Regions from separate parts of the Homo sapiens genome. Here region 2 is linked to region 1. The links are contacts of gene promoters, found by promoter capture Hi-C in human tissues and cell types (Jung and others, 2019). All regions are on one chromosome and are shown on one strand. Each heading gives the region's core, a stretch centred on a gene start or on the middle of the fragment in contact. The rest is flanking DNA. Distances are from core to core; before and after follow the strand shown.

Region 1 (6,547 bases), core at 1,627-4,126:
AAATTTATATTACAACACATCCCCACTAAAAGAAGTTGAAAAAAAAATCTAACCTGAATTTATTGGCAGCAAATTTAGCCTGAACTGACATGAGGTTAGTTATAGTGTTTATTTGTTCAGTGTGAAATTTGAGTATTTCTATGTTTCATTGTGTTTGATTTTCGATGCTGCCCCAGACACTGAGGAAGGTATTAGGTAATGTGTGGAATGTGCACACATAAACGTGAACAGAAGCACTTCTGAATTCTGAAACCCATCAAGTCTCAAGAGTTTTGGATAAAAGGCTGGGCACGGTGGCTCACACCTGTAATCCCAGGACTTTGGGAGGCGAGGCGGGAGGACTTGAGGTCAGGAATTCGAGACCAGCCTGGCCAACATAATGAAACTCCATCTCTACTAAAAATACAAAAATTAGCCAGGTGTGGAGGCGGGTACCTGTAATCCCAGCTGCTCAGGAGGCTGAGGCACAAGAATCGCTTGAACCTGGGAGGTGGAGGTTGCAGTGAGCCGAGATTGCTCCACCGCACTCCAGCCCGGGCGACAGAGAGAAACTCCCTCTCAATAAAGAGTTTTGGATAAAGGATTTTGGACCTGCATCACTTTTCCCTGGCAAATAGCAGGTGATAATAAGTGCTTGTTGAATGACTAAACTCTGATTCATCCTTGAGACCATCAATTATTTGCCTGCCAGTCCTATGAATGTGTTGAGGCCATTTGCCCGGTGTACAATAGGCCACAGACAGCTATTTAAATTCTTCTGCCTGCCTTCTATAGTTTTTGCTTTGGTTTGTCTAGTATTCCATCTTGTTATGAAAGCCACCAGCTATAAATTCTTGAGGTTATCAATATCCCTACCTAAAAGAAGTTGCTTTTTCTCTTCCATTTTTCTGCAGCCCTAGGAGCAGACAACTAAGCTTGTATAAAGTAAACAAACTAGTTCAGAATGAAGCCTTAGGAGCTTTGTGTTGAGTCCCATGTACACTTTGAGACACCTATTTTGGCTGCTTCTTGGGCCTACTTCCTGATTCTCAAGGTTTGGGAAGATAGAAGTTCCCCAGTCACCAACTTCTCTGTCATGTTAAGGGGAATAATTTATATTTTTACCATTTCAGGTTAAAAATAACTTCATATTATTAAGCATTAGAAAAGTAAGCTCCCTGAGGGCAAGGATTTTTGTCTGTTTTGCCCACAGCTGTATTCCTAATGCCTAAAACAAATATTTAATGAAGGAAGAAGCACCCTGAGTTTGAGAGAGAATATTTTGTCCTGATAGCTCCAGAAGATGGTATTTCTTGAGGAAATCCTGGATGTGTAGATAGAGCAGATGTTGTGAAATGCCAAAGTTAAAAGCAGATGAAGAGGCCAGGCGCGGTGGCCCACACCTGTAATCCCAGCACTTTCAGAGGCCAAGGTGAGAGGATTGCATGAGCTCAGGAACTTGATACCAGCCCGGGCAACAGAGCAAGACTCTGTCTCTACAAAAAATTAAAAAAATTAACCAGGTGTAGTGGCATGTGCCTGTAGTCCCAGGTACTTGACAGGCTGAGGCAGAAGGATTGCTTGAGAATAAGCTGCAGTGAGCCGTGGTCATGCCTCTGCACTCCAGCTTGGGAGACAGAGCAAGACCCTGTCTCAAAAAGAAAAAAAAAAAAAGCAGATGAAGTTAGAACTATGTTTTAAATGATAATATGATAATATTCAGAAATAGTTTGGTAGATCAACTCTTCAAGGATGGGGAAAAAACTGTCAGTATAAATACTTTATAACGTGCCTTAATTTCCAGACAAAAAGGCAAAATATTATTTTAAACAAAATGCCATTTTAAAAGGTCTAGAGCTAGAGCAAGCTGGTCTAACCCGAGGCCCATGGGCCGCTTTGAATGTGGCCCAACACGCATTCGTAAACTTTCTTAAAACATTGAGGTTTTTTTGCGAATTTTTTTTTTCTTTTAGGTCATCAGCTATCCTTAGTGTTAGTGTATTTTGTGTGTGGCCCAGGGAAGCCAAAAGATTGGACACTCCTTCTCTAGACTCAGTCTAGAACCCTCTCTCTACTACAGCTAAGATGAATGTGTGCTTTATTCTGAGCTAAATGTCTTAGAGGAAGGTGCAGAGGTATGGAAAGTTCCTCCATACCGGAAAACACAGTGAGGATGCCTGGGGAGTACAGAGGGAATTATGTGGCGTGCAGATTTGAATGCATGGATGAGACTTGAGAATTCTGATTGAGGACGTAAGGCCTGTGCGAGAGCCCAAAAAGCGTTCTCAGAACAAAGTAGCAAGGGGCGCGTATGAATTGCTGTGGTATCATCCGCAAGGGCTTTCAGAGGGGAAAAAGGACAAGGTTGGAAGGAGGCAGTTATGTTATGGGATGTAGGCAGGAATAAGAAGCAGTGCCAGGTAAGAGGGAGGAATCCAGGGGGATTCCTCTGGGGAAATCATGGGGAAAGGACTGTAGAAGAATTCGGCCTAGGTGGGATTCTGCAGACCAGCTGCAGGTGCAAGGACTAAAGTGAGCATGGGTGGAACCTAAGGGATGAAAAGACTGCAGGATCCTAAAGCGGCGGCCCAATCTGGAAGTGTCCGGGCTTTGGCCCAGGGCCCGGGGAGGCCAGGGCACGCCAGCCCGGGCCTGACAAGCCACGTTCCTACCGGTCCGCAAGCGTCCGGCCGCAGGTCTTGGAAGTCCGCGCCGTAAATGGCCTCCAGGGCCTGTAGCTCGTGGTCCTGTCGTTGCGGGTAGCTCTCCGGAGGCTCGTCCCGGCCGCGCCCGGGGGCCCCACGGCCCCCAGCCATGGCAGCGCTGCGCCCAAGGCAGGGCGGCCTTGCCTGGGCGGCGGTGGGCCCCCGGCAGCCTGCGGGGCGGGGCTCCGCGCTGGGGACGGGCTATGGGCGGTGTTCCACGCTGGAAACGGGCTCGTGGGCGGGGTTCCGCGCCGGGGACGGGCCGTAGGCGGAGCTCCGCGCCGGGAGCTAGCTCCGGAGGCTCCAGAAGCCCAGGCGAAGGAAGAAGGCAGGGGGACAGCTTTGCCCACATCCTGCTGGGGGAAGGGGAGCAAAGGAACTCCACGAACTTAAGAAATGAATCACAGATAGGAATGAAAACGCCACATTGTATAGTTTTCACGAAACAAGTATCTTTAACAGAAGTGCTTGCTGGAACTTCTCCACCCTGGCATGGCTAGTGCGGGAAACTCTTTTTTCTTTTTTTTGGCAGAGTTTCGGCTCTTGTTCCCCAGGCTGGAGTGCAGTGGCGCGATCTCGGCTCACTGCAACTTCCGCCTGCCGGGTTCACGCGATTCTCCTGCGTCAGCCTCCAGAGTAGCTGGGACTACAGGCGCGCACCACCACGCCCGGCTAATTTTTCTATTTTTAGTAGAGATGGTGTTTCACCATGTTGGCCAAGATGTTCTCGATCTCCTGACCTTGTGATCCGCCCGCCTCGGCCTTCCAAAGTGCTGGGATTACAGGCATGAGCCACCGCGCCCGGCCGGGAAACTCTTAAAGGGCAGACGTCGATGGGTTCTGAGGTCACTTCTAATTTCACCTTGTACCTTCCCAGAACAAGACTACCGGGAGTAAAAATTGTGACCCCCCCCACCCTCCTTCCTCCCACTTTAGTACCCCCAAACTTATTCTCTGAGCCACAGATTCAACACCCTCATTATGTTCTCTGTCTCTACATTCCCCAGCTTTGGGGATCTCCACTACCACCTTGCAAATTCAATTGAAAACTGTCTTTCCACTCAGGCATCTTTATGAGCTACCTTCCCATGAAGAGAATCATGTTCCCTTCCCAGTTCACTCAGTGTGAATTTAGGGAGTCTTTGTGTTATATCCTGCCTCAAGTCGTCGTTTTTCAAGTTTATAAAATAATAACCTGTCTACCCAGACATTGTTATTGCACTTCATCTTCAGTAACTTACTAATGCTGCATGTCCATTTCGAATAATCCTATTGTACTAACCCAAGTTAGGTTTAAGTGACGTTTCTTCTGTCTACCTTGCTTACTCCTCCACTGTTCACTAAATAATGATTGTGTAAATTCCTTGCTGCCATCTATCCACTCATTTCTGGCCAGATAACACAAATGCACTAGCTTGACCCAAGGCCAATTTAAATCATCATCTTCCCTCTGCTGGAGACCCGTTCCTTCTCCAGTGATCTCTGACTAGGTAAATGGCACCATTCAACTGAGTGTGATTCTGAATTCCCTTTCTCTCAACTCACATCCAAATAGTCACCACTTCTGTCCATCCACTACACTCTAACCCATTGCCACTAACTTAGTTCAGGCTACTGTCACCAATTCCCTGGGTTACTTCAATAACTCTCTTAATTAGTCACTGTCTTCATTCTTGCCCCACATTAAGCCATTCTTCCTATTGCAGCCAGAGTAATGTTTCTAAATTGCAAATATGGCCATTGCACTCTAATCCTTAAAATTACTCCATTTCTCTATTGGTCTTTAAAAAAATTCTTTTAAACCTATATTTATGAAAATGTCAAACATACTTAGAAGTAAACTCCTCTGTACTCATCATCCAGCTTCAACAACCATAGATATTTTGTCAATTTTATTTCATCTCTTCTCTCCATCCCTCAGGAGTGTTTTTTTTAAGTCTCAATCATATCATTTTAAAAAATAAATACCTAAGGATATATCTCTAACTAGAAAAGGAACCAACATAACATATTACTAATCTTATACCCTAAAAATGTAACCCTTTGGCCAGGGACAGTGGCTCACACCTGTAATCCCAGCACAAGGTGGAGGATCACTTGAGGCCAGGAGTTTGAGACCAGCCTGGGCAACATAGCGAGGCCCCATCTCTACAAAAAATAAAATAAAAAATTAGCTGGACGAGGTGACATGTAGTCCCACCCTCAGGAGGCTGAGTGGGAGGATTGCTTGAGCCCAGGAGTCCAAGGCTGCAGTGAGCTGTGATTGCACCACTGCACTCCAATCTGGGCAACAGAGTAAGACCTTGTCTCTTAAAAAAAAATTAACAATTTCTTAGCATCGTTTAATACCTAATCTATGTTCAAATATTTCCATTGTGTAAAATTAGAATCTATACTGGACGCTGGACCTATAAAAGATATAATTAAAACAAACAGCAAAATTTGAAAGGAATCTGTGGATTACATGGCAGTATTATACCAAATGCAGCATTAAGGGGGCAGTGACGTATTAAATATGCAGTTAGCTCCCAAATGATTCAGGAAAAAGAAGAGAGATGATGCTAAATCAAATGTAGAATGTTGAACATTGGAGAATTTAGGTGAAGGATATATGAGAGCTCTTTGAGTGACTTGAAAATTTTATGTAAGTTGGAAATTATTTTAAAGTCAAAGTTCAAAGCAAAAAAAATAAGAAACTGTCAAAGTGTTTTCCAAAGTGGTTGTACCACTTTATATTCCCATCAGTTTATGGGAGTTCCAGTTGTTCTACCTCTTTGCCAGTAATTGGTATTGTAATGTTTTTAATCTTAAACATAGTAATTGGTGCTTAGCAGTATCTCAGTGTGTCTTAACTTGCATTATCCTAATGATTAATGATGTTGGGCATCTTTTCATGTGATTATTTTCCATTCATATATCGTCTGTCTTCTGTTTTTATTCACATCTTTGGTGCATTTTAAAAATTTTGTTTTTGTTTTCTTATTAACTTTTGAGAAATATTTATATATTCTGGACATGTATTTTTTTTTTTTTTTTTGAGATGGAATCTCACTCTGTCACCGAGGCTGGAGTGCAGTGGTGCGATCGCAGCTCACTGCAACCTCTGCCTCCCGGGTTCAAGCAGTTCTCCTGCCTCAGCCTCCCGAGTAGCTGGGATTACAGGCATATGCCACCACGCCCAGCTAATTTTTGTAGTTTTAGTAGTGACGGGGTTTCACCATGTTGGCCAGGCTGGTCTTGAACTCCTGACCTCGTGATCTGCTCGCCTCAGCCTCCCAAAGTGCTGGAATTACAGGTGTAGGCCACTGCACCAGGCCGGACATGTCTTTTATCAGATATGTGACAGGCAAAAATATTCACCCAGTCTGTGGCTTGCTTTTTCATTCTCTTAACTGTATTTCAAAGAGCATGTTTCTTACTTTAGAGGACATTTAATTTGTCATTTTTTTCTTACATGAATTATGTTTTGCAGTCATATCTAAGAAATATTTGCCTATCCCAAGGCCAAAAAGGTTTTCTTCTATGTCTTCATCTAGATAGTGTTAGATTTTACCTTTTGGCCTATCATCCATTTTAGTTAAAAACTTAAGCATATACCTACTATATGAAACAGCAATTCCATCCCAGGCATTTACCCAAGAGAAACAAAAGCGTATGTCCATACAATGACTTGTATGTAAATATTTGTAGCACCTTAATTTGTAATATCCCCAAACTGGAAACAAACCAAATGCCCACCAACACAAGATGGACATATTGAAGTATAAACAAATTGAGGTATATCAATACAATGAAATACTATTCAGCAATAAAAAGAAATACATTATAGATACAGCAACAACATAGACAAACTCAAAATAATT
Region 2 (5,971 bases), core at 1,821-4,320, 1.2 Mb after region 1:
CCTGGGCAGGGAACAAATCTGGTACTAGATAGAACTCTTTTTTTCCCCCAGAGAACTCGTACAGGTTTGCCTGTCTTTCTGAAAAGCAACTAGAAGTTATTCTTTTGGGATATGGAGGAAGACATCACAAATGCCATTATTTAGCTATGTATTTTCCCCTTTTTATCTCAATTCTTAAAACAGAACGACTTTCTCTTTGACATCAAATTGATAACAGGCTCTTCCCACCCACTTCAGAGTCAATTCTAGCCAGCTAGAAAAAGGAATCCACAGCAAGGAAATCACAGTTCTGATTAGATGCCAGCTTCTTCCCATCAGGTATGAGATAATGATTGAATCAGACTGGATGGATGGATAAAGTTGCTCCTGGATTGATGCTGAATGATAGTTATATCTAATCTCTGTGCATAGAAAAGCCAAGCCAGCCAGGCAAAGTGGCTCACGCCTGTAATTCTAGCACTTTGGGAGGCCAAGGCGGGTGGATCACCTGAGGTCAGGAGTTCAAAACCAGCCTGGCCAACATGGTGAAATCCTGTCTCTACTAAAAATACAAAAATTAGCCAGGCGTGGTGGTGGCGCCTGTAATCCCAGCTACTCGGGAGGCTGAGGCAGGAGAATGGCTTGAACCTGGGAGGCAGAGGTTGCAGTAAGCTGAGATCTTGCCATTGCACTCCAGCCTGGGCGACAGAGGGAGACTCCATTAAAAAAAAAGAAAAGAAAAGCCTACTGACATTAGCAGTATTATATGGTCGAAAAATAGCCATCATAATAATTTACATTGGTCTCATTTTTATTGAAATGAGGCCATGCAAAGCCACATGTAAAGATGAATTCAGCAAAAACCCAAACCGAATGAAATACTGGTTCAGAGAATATTCTTATGTTGTGATTGTGTCATGCCTAACAGAATTTAAAAATAATGGTCTAAGTAATTCTAAGTGGTTTCACATAAATAATTGTGGATAGAGTCCAAAATAGGTATTTTCATAGATTTTTCTGAATATTAGTTCAAGTTCAATTTATTCTGGATTTTGATTTCAGTCTCTGGTGCTTGTAACTTTTATTTTATACATCTTATCCCAGTAAGTTGTCCTTGAAAAAAATAGTAAGAGCCTTGTCACCTACCCTTTAAAATGTTTTCAAATATAAAAATATAGAAAGTTGTACAGGTCATAAACATACAAGTCAATTTTCACAAACTGAATACAACTGTGTAATTAGCACCCAGGTTAAGAAACAGAACTCAGCAGCACCTCAGAACCCACTTCATGCCTCATCTCCCAAAAGCAACCTCTATCCTGACCCTTAACTACATAGTTCAGTGCATCGGTTGGCTCTTGCTGCAGAACAAACAATCACAAAACTTCAATATTTTATCATTCACTCACGGGGGTGGTTGTGTAGGCAAGTTGGTTCATCTTGGCTGGGCTCTTGCCAGGTCTGTCCCACAGGCCTTGGCCAATGGATGAAATGAGTACTCAGACACAGGTATGCAGTATAAAAGCAGCTAGGTGACTGGCTGGCTCTAACGGCCAGACAGCAGCCTGGAGAAGCTGGAGCTGCTTGCTTTTATTCAGCTCAGGCACAATGCCAAAAACCTGGAGCCAACACAACCTGTAGGTAATTAACATTTATTGTTCTCCTTCCAGAGAAAGTCAGGTGTGTGGATGATCAAAGGTCAGTTCCTGGTCAACATAAGTAAACAAGCCTGTTTAAGATAAATTCCCCTACACTCCTTTGTACTTACTCCTTGCCCTCTGCCTCAGGGTTATAGAACAGCTGCTTTCAGCTATTCTCTCCTGGGGCTCTGCAGGAGCTTCCAACCTTTCAGAAGGTTTGCATCCTTTCCCTATAATTTTTCCCACCACTGTGACTGATCCCCCACAGACTTTCTCTTGCACCTTGGGGGTTGGGGGACAGCTCGCCTCCAGCAGGCTAGCCAGGCATGGCCATGGTGATAGCAGAGAATAAGAGAACAAACAGAAATATGCAGGCATCCTCTTTATTCAAGATAGGATCTGACAGAGCCAGGATTAGAGTGAGGCTAGTAGAGTGAGGCTAGTAAATTGAGTTATGCAAGTGCAGGGTCAGCTCCTGTCTTTATCGAAATTTTGTTCACAATGGATTTTCTTGCATTAATTTTGATTTTTCAAAAACATTGCATTCAATATTATTTTTCTTGATTACTGAGGATTTTGGTGCCTCCTTAATTTTAAGGCTGGGGCAGTTGCCTTCATTGCCTCACCATAGTCCTGACCCTGCTGGGGAAATACACTCCACATCTTCAGTGAAAGGAGCTGCAGTCATATGGCAAAGGGCATGGATTTTAAGAGATGAAGAGTTAGAGCTGCTAGTACAATCAATCTACCACAATTAATTTTGGCCATTTTTTACACTGGGCGCAGTGACTGATGCCTGTAATCCCAGCACTTTGGGAGGCTGAGGCAGGAGGATCACTTGAGTGCAGGAGTTTGAGACCAGCCTGGGCTATACAGGGAGATCCCATCTGTACAAAAAGTTTTTTTTTAAATATTAGGTGGGTGTGATAGCATGCTCCTATAGTCCCAGCTACTCAGAAGGCTGAGGTAGGAAGATCCTTCAGCCTGGGAATTTGAGGCTGCAGTGAGCTGTGATTATGCCACTGTACTCCACCCTGGGTGACAGAGCAAGACCTTGTTTGGGGCCCTTTTTTTGTTTTATATAAGTGGAATTGGACAATGTGTATTCTCTTGAGTCTGGCATCTTTTTCTTAATGTAATATTTGTGAAATACATCCAGAGTGTTGTGTGTAATTGTAAATCATTCATTTTCATTGCTATACAGAATCCTGTTGTACAAAGACACCACCGGGTTGAAAGGCATTCGGATAGTCACCATTTACGGCTATGAATACCATTGTGTTGAACAATCTAGTATAAATCTCTATTAAATATATATGCATTTTTGTTGGACATGTACATAGGAATGGAATTGCTGGGTCCGAGGGTGTGTGTACATTCAGTTTTAATTGTTGCCAGTTTCCCAACAATTCGTTTAGCTTTATTAAAGTTCTTGGTATGTAGTAGTATCAGTCTTCCAGTTTTGTTCTTTTTTAAGATAGTCTGGCTATTTTTGGCTCCACATTTCTAAATAAATTTTAGAAATAGCTTCTCAATTTCCACAAAAGAAAAAACCTGCTGGGATCTTTACTGTGCTAGTTTTGAATTTGTAGACTAATTTGGGAAGAACTGACATCTTTTCAATATACCTCCATGTCATCTTAAATTTTTCTCCATGTCTCATACCTTTGTATATCTACTTTGAATAAGACAGGTAGCCAATAAATATATAAAATAGGTGGTTAATTAATGCATTACAAGGCTTTAGACTTAATGATATTTTTTCAGCCACACTACTCACCTGCTATGGTTCAAATGTCCTCACCAAAACTGTTGTTGAAATTTAATTGCCGTTGTTACAGTTTTGGGAGATGGGGCCTGTAAGAGGTGATGAGGTCCTGAGGGCTCTGCCTTTGTGAATAGACTCATGCTGTCATCACAGAAGTGAGTGAGCGATCTTGGGAGTCTGGCCCCCTTTTCCTCCCTCCCTCCCTCTCTGTCTCTGTCTCTCTTTCTCACACTCCCTCTCTTGCCCTTCTGCCTCCCTGCCATGGAATGACCCTTCCTGGAGGACAGCACCATGCTCTTGGACTTCCCAGCCTCCAAAACCATACACTAAATAAATTTCTCTTCATTATAAATTACCCACTCTGTAGTATTCTGTTACAGCAACAGGAAACCTACTAAGACAACCTCTTCCAGACACCTGAACTCATTCTTCTCTTCCATTCCCCTAGGCCTTGCACATGCTCTTCCTTAGTCAGGTAGAATTCCCTCCCTGCCCTCTCTCCCTCCTGCCTGACTAAATCTAGTCTTCCTTGACAAGTCTATTCAAATGTCACTGCTCTGCAGAGTTACCAATTCCTCTTTGTTTTCTCCCACTGCATTTCTTCACCTGATTTTAAGTTGCCATGTTGTATTAGAATGAGCTGCTCGGGTATCCACTAAACACTTGGTTGCCTACCAGAACCAGCCCAGCACTAAGTAGATTTGTGTTGGATAAATGAAAATGACCATTCCGCTTTTTGCTGGGCTGTTTGGTTTAGGTGTTTTTGTTGGGCTGTTTGTTAGTTGATTTGTTTTGTCTTTGTAGGACTTCATTTGAATTGAAATTTAGTCAAAGAAAGAAAAATTGTGTTCCAGTTTGGCAAAGGAGTACATGTCTATCTGATTTTTGCTTCATTATTTATTTTGATTTGAAAATATGTCTTTATATTAAACCTCTTTACAATATGGATTTGAAGCAGATAAATTGTTTGGTCTGATTCACATCACAGCTTCTGAGTTAGCTTAGAAGAAAACCATCAACTGATGTTTCCGGTAACCAGCAGCAAGAGAGCTCATGAAAAGGCAGGCACACCTCCAGTGACCACTAGGTGGCAGTTTCACTCTCAATATGACCAGATTGACAATGTCCATCCAAGAAGTCTGGGGCAGGTAAGTTGGAGCACAAGACCAAGCTTAACTAGGCCTGTGGGTGGAAAAATGAAGACCCAAACTCAGCCCTGAAGAAAATGGAGTTATGGAAAAAACAGCACATGGAAAATGTAAAGGAATGCCACTAGACATTATTTCACTGAAAGGTTAGCTAAGTTAACCACAGCCACAAAATCAGTAGAGAAAAGACGTGCCGGACCCGAGACAGGCCAGACAGTGTTGAAAGGCAAAGGAGTCTCCAGTCCACCCTCCATGGCTGGAGCCCAGACCCCTGGGGAAAGGCAGGATGGTTGCAGGCTGGTCATTGCTGAGCCCCTGGTAATGTGCCGAGTGACCAACTTCAGGTGTCTCTCCGCCAAGACTGCTTGGTTCTCCTCTTCTGAGTGACCCCAGAAGGAACCCCTGAGAGACACTGCTTAGTCTTTCTAGTTCCCATTCCAAAGTTGGATAAGGGACTTTTCAAGCTTAAAGTGGGAACGAGGGGCAGGGCTTATCTCCACAGGAAGCCAAGGTGGCTCCTATCATAGCAAATCAAGATACTTCATGGGTACACCCACAACAGGCCAGCCAGGGCCCCTGAGGAAATTATGTGGACTATTAACCTTAAGGAGGCTGCAGGCCAAAAGCATCAACCGACTTCTATCAGGAGTGTATTTTTTTTTTTATGATGCAGAATAGGGAATAGGGAAACTATCCTGGAATAGGGAAACTGAGGCCCAGAGCAAGCCAGGGATGAAACAATTCCATCCCCCGTGACTGAGAAGAGAGCCTTCAGGTAGGCTTGAGGAAACAAAAGCCCTGAGGAAGCTGTCTTGGCAATGTCCAGGTTATTACACTATAACATCCACTCATACGTTTGTGGTAGGGCTTCAACTTTTACACACGAATAACCTGAGTGATCGAATTACCTGTTCTCTTCTCTTTCTCTGCTACCAACCCCAGAAAGACTGCAAAGAATAGACACTTGAGTCTAAACCAAACTGCTAGGCTCAAAGAACACTGCACCAGCTATGAGGTAATAACCACCATGGGTTACAGGATCTGTGAACGGGATAAGCTCCTTTACTTCCCCCCGGCTGGAGTGTGAGTTATAAAACAGACTAACAAGGAGAGGGAGAGACAAGTTTTCAGGAAGAGCTGGTAAGAAGGCACCTGCAGCTTCTCCCCAACATCTTACACACCACACCGACATCAACCTCCTAGTTTGACATCCCTGTAACTAGGCCTTGACATCAAGGCCTAGTTTGGGTGGGGAAAGTAACCCCCAGAGGATCTGAGAGGAGAGATTGGCATGCTCTCCTCCTGGTGGACTTTCCCAAGTAGCAGCCCCCACAGACACATCTGTCACTGGGTCGCAGGAAGACAGGAAGTGGTGAACGGCGGGGCACAGTTAGGTAGGAGGGGCTGGAAGCCACTTCTGGGCTTCTCTTGGAGTC

What was found. Contacts are between HindIII fragments. The study calls those that stand out against the background at their distance.
Region 2: a fragment that was not itself captured here is called in contact with the fragment with the promoter of EIF2AK4 in region 1 in 1 of the 25 tissues and cell types used here (hippocampus).

What each region holds. Positions count from the first base shown.
Region 1 is chr15:39,930,444-39,936,990 of GRCh38, reverse strand. EIF2AK4 (eukaryotic translation initiation factor 2 alpha kinase 4) reads right to left here and starts at 2,876. Exons shown (of 39, transcript NM_001013703.4): 1 at 2,652-2,876. The coding sequence starts at 2,795. RefSeq lists a silencer at 2,594-3,003 and an enhancer at 3,024-3,163. The HindIII fragment of the contact is 10,364 bases long and covers 1-6,547 here.
Region 2 is chr15:38,698,342-38,704,312 of GRCh38, reverse strand. It overlaps LINC02694 (long intergenic non-protein coding RNA 2694), which reads right to left. Exons shown (of 2, transcript NR_160786.1): 2 at 4,275-5,971. Among named protein-coding and RNA genes, the nearest start is that of LINC02694, 4.7 kb to the right of the region's middle. The HindIII fragment of the contact is 3,418 bases long and covers 1,362-4,779 here.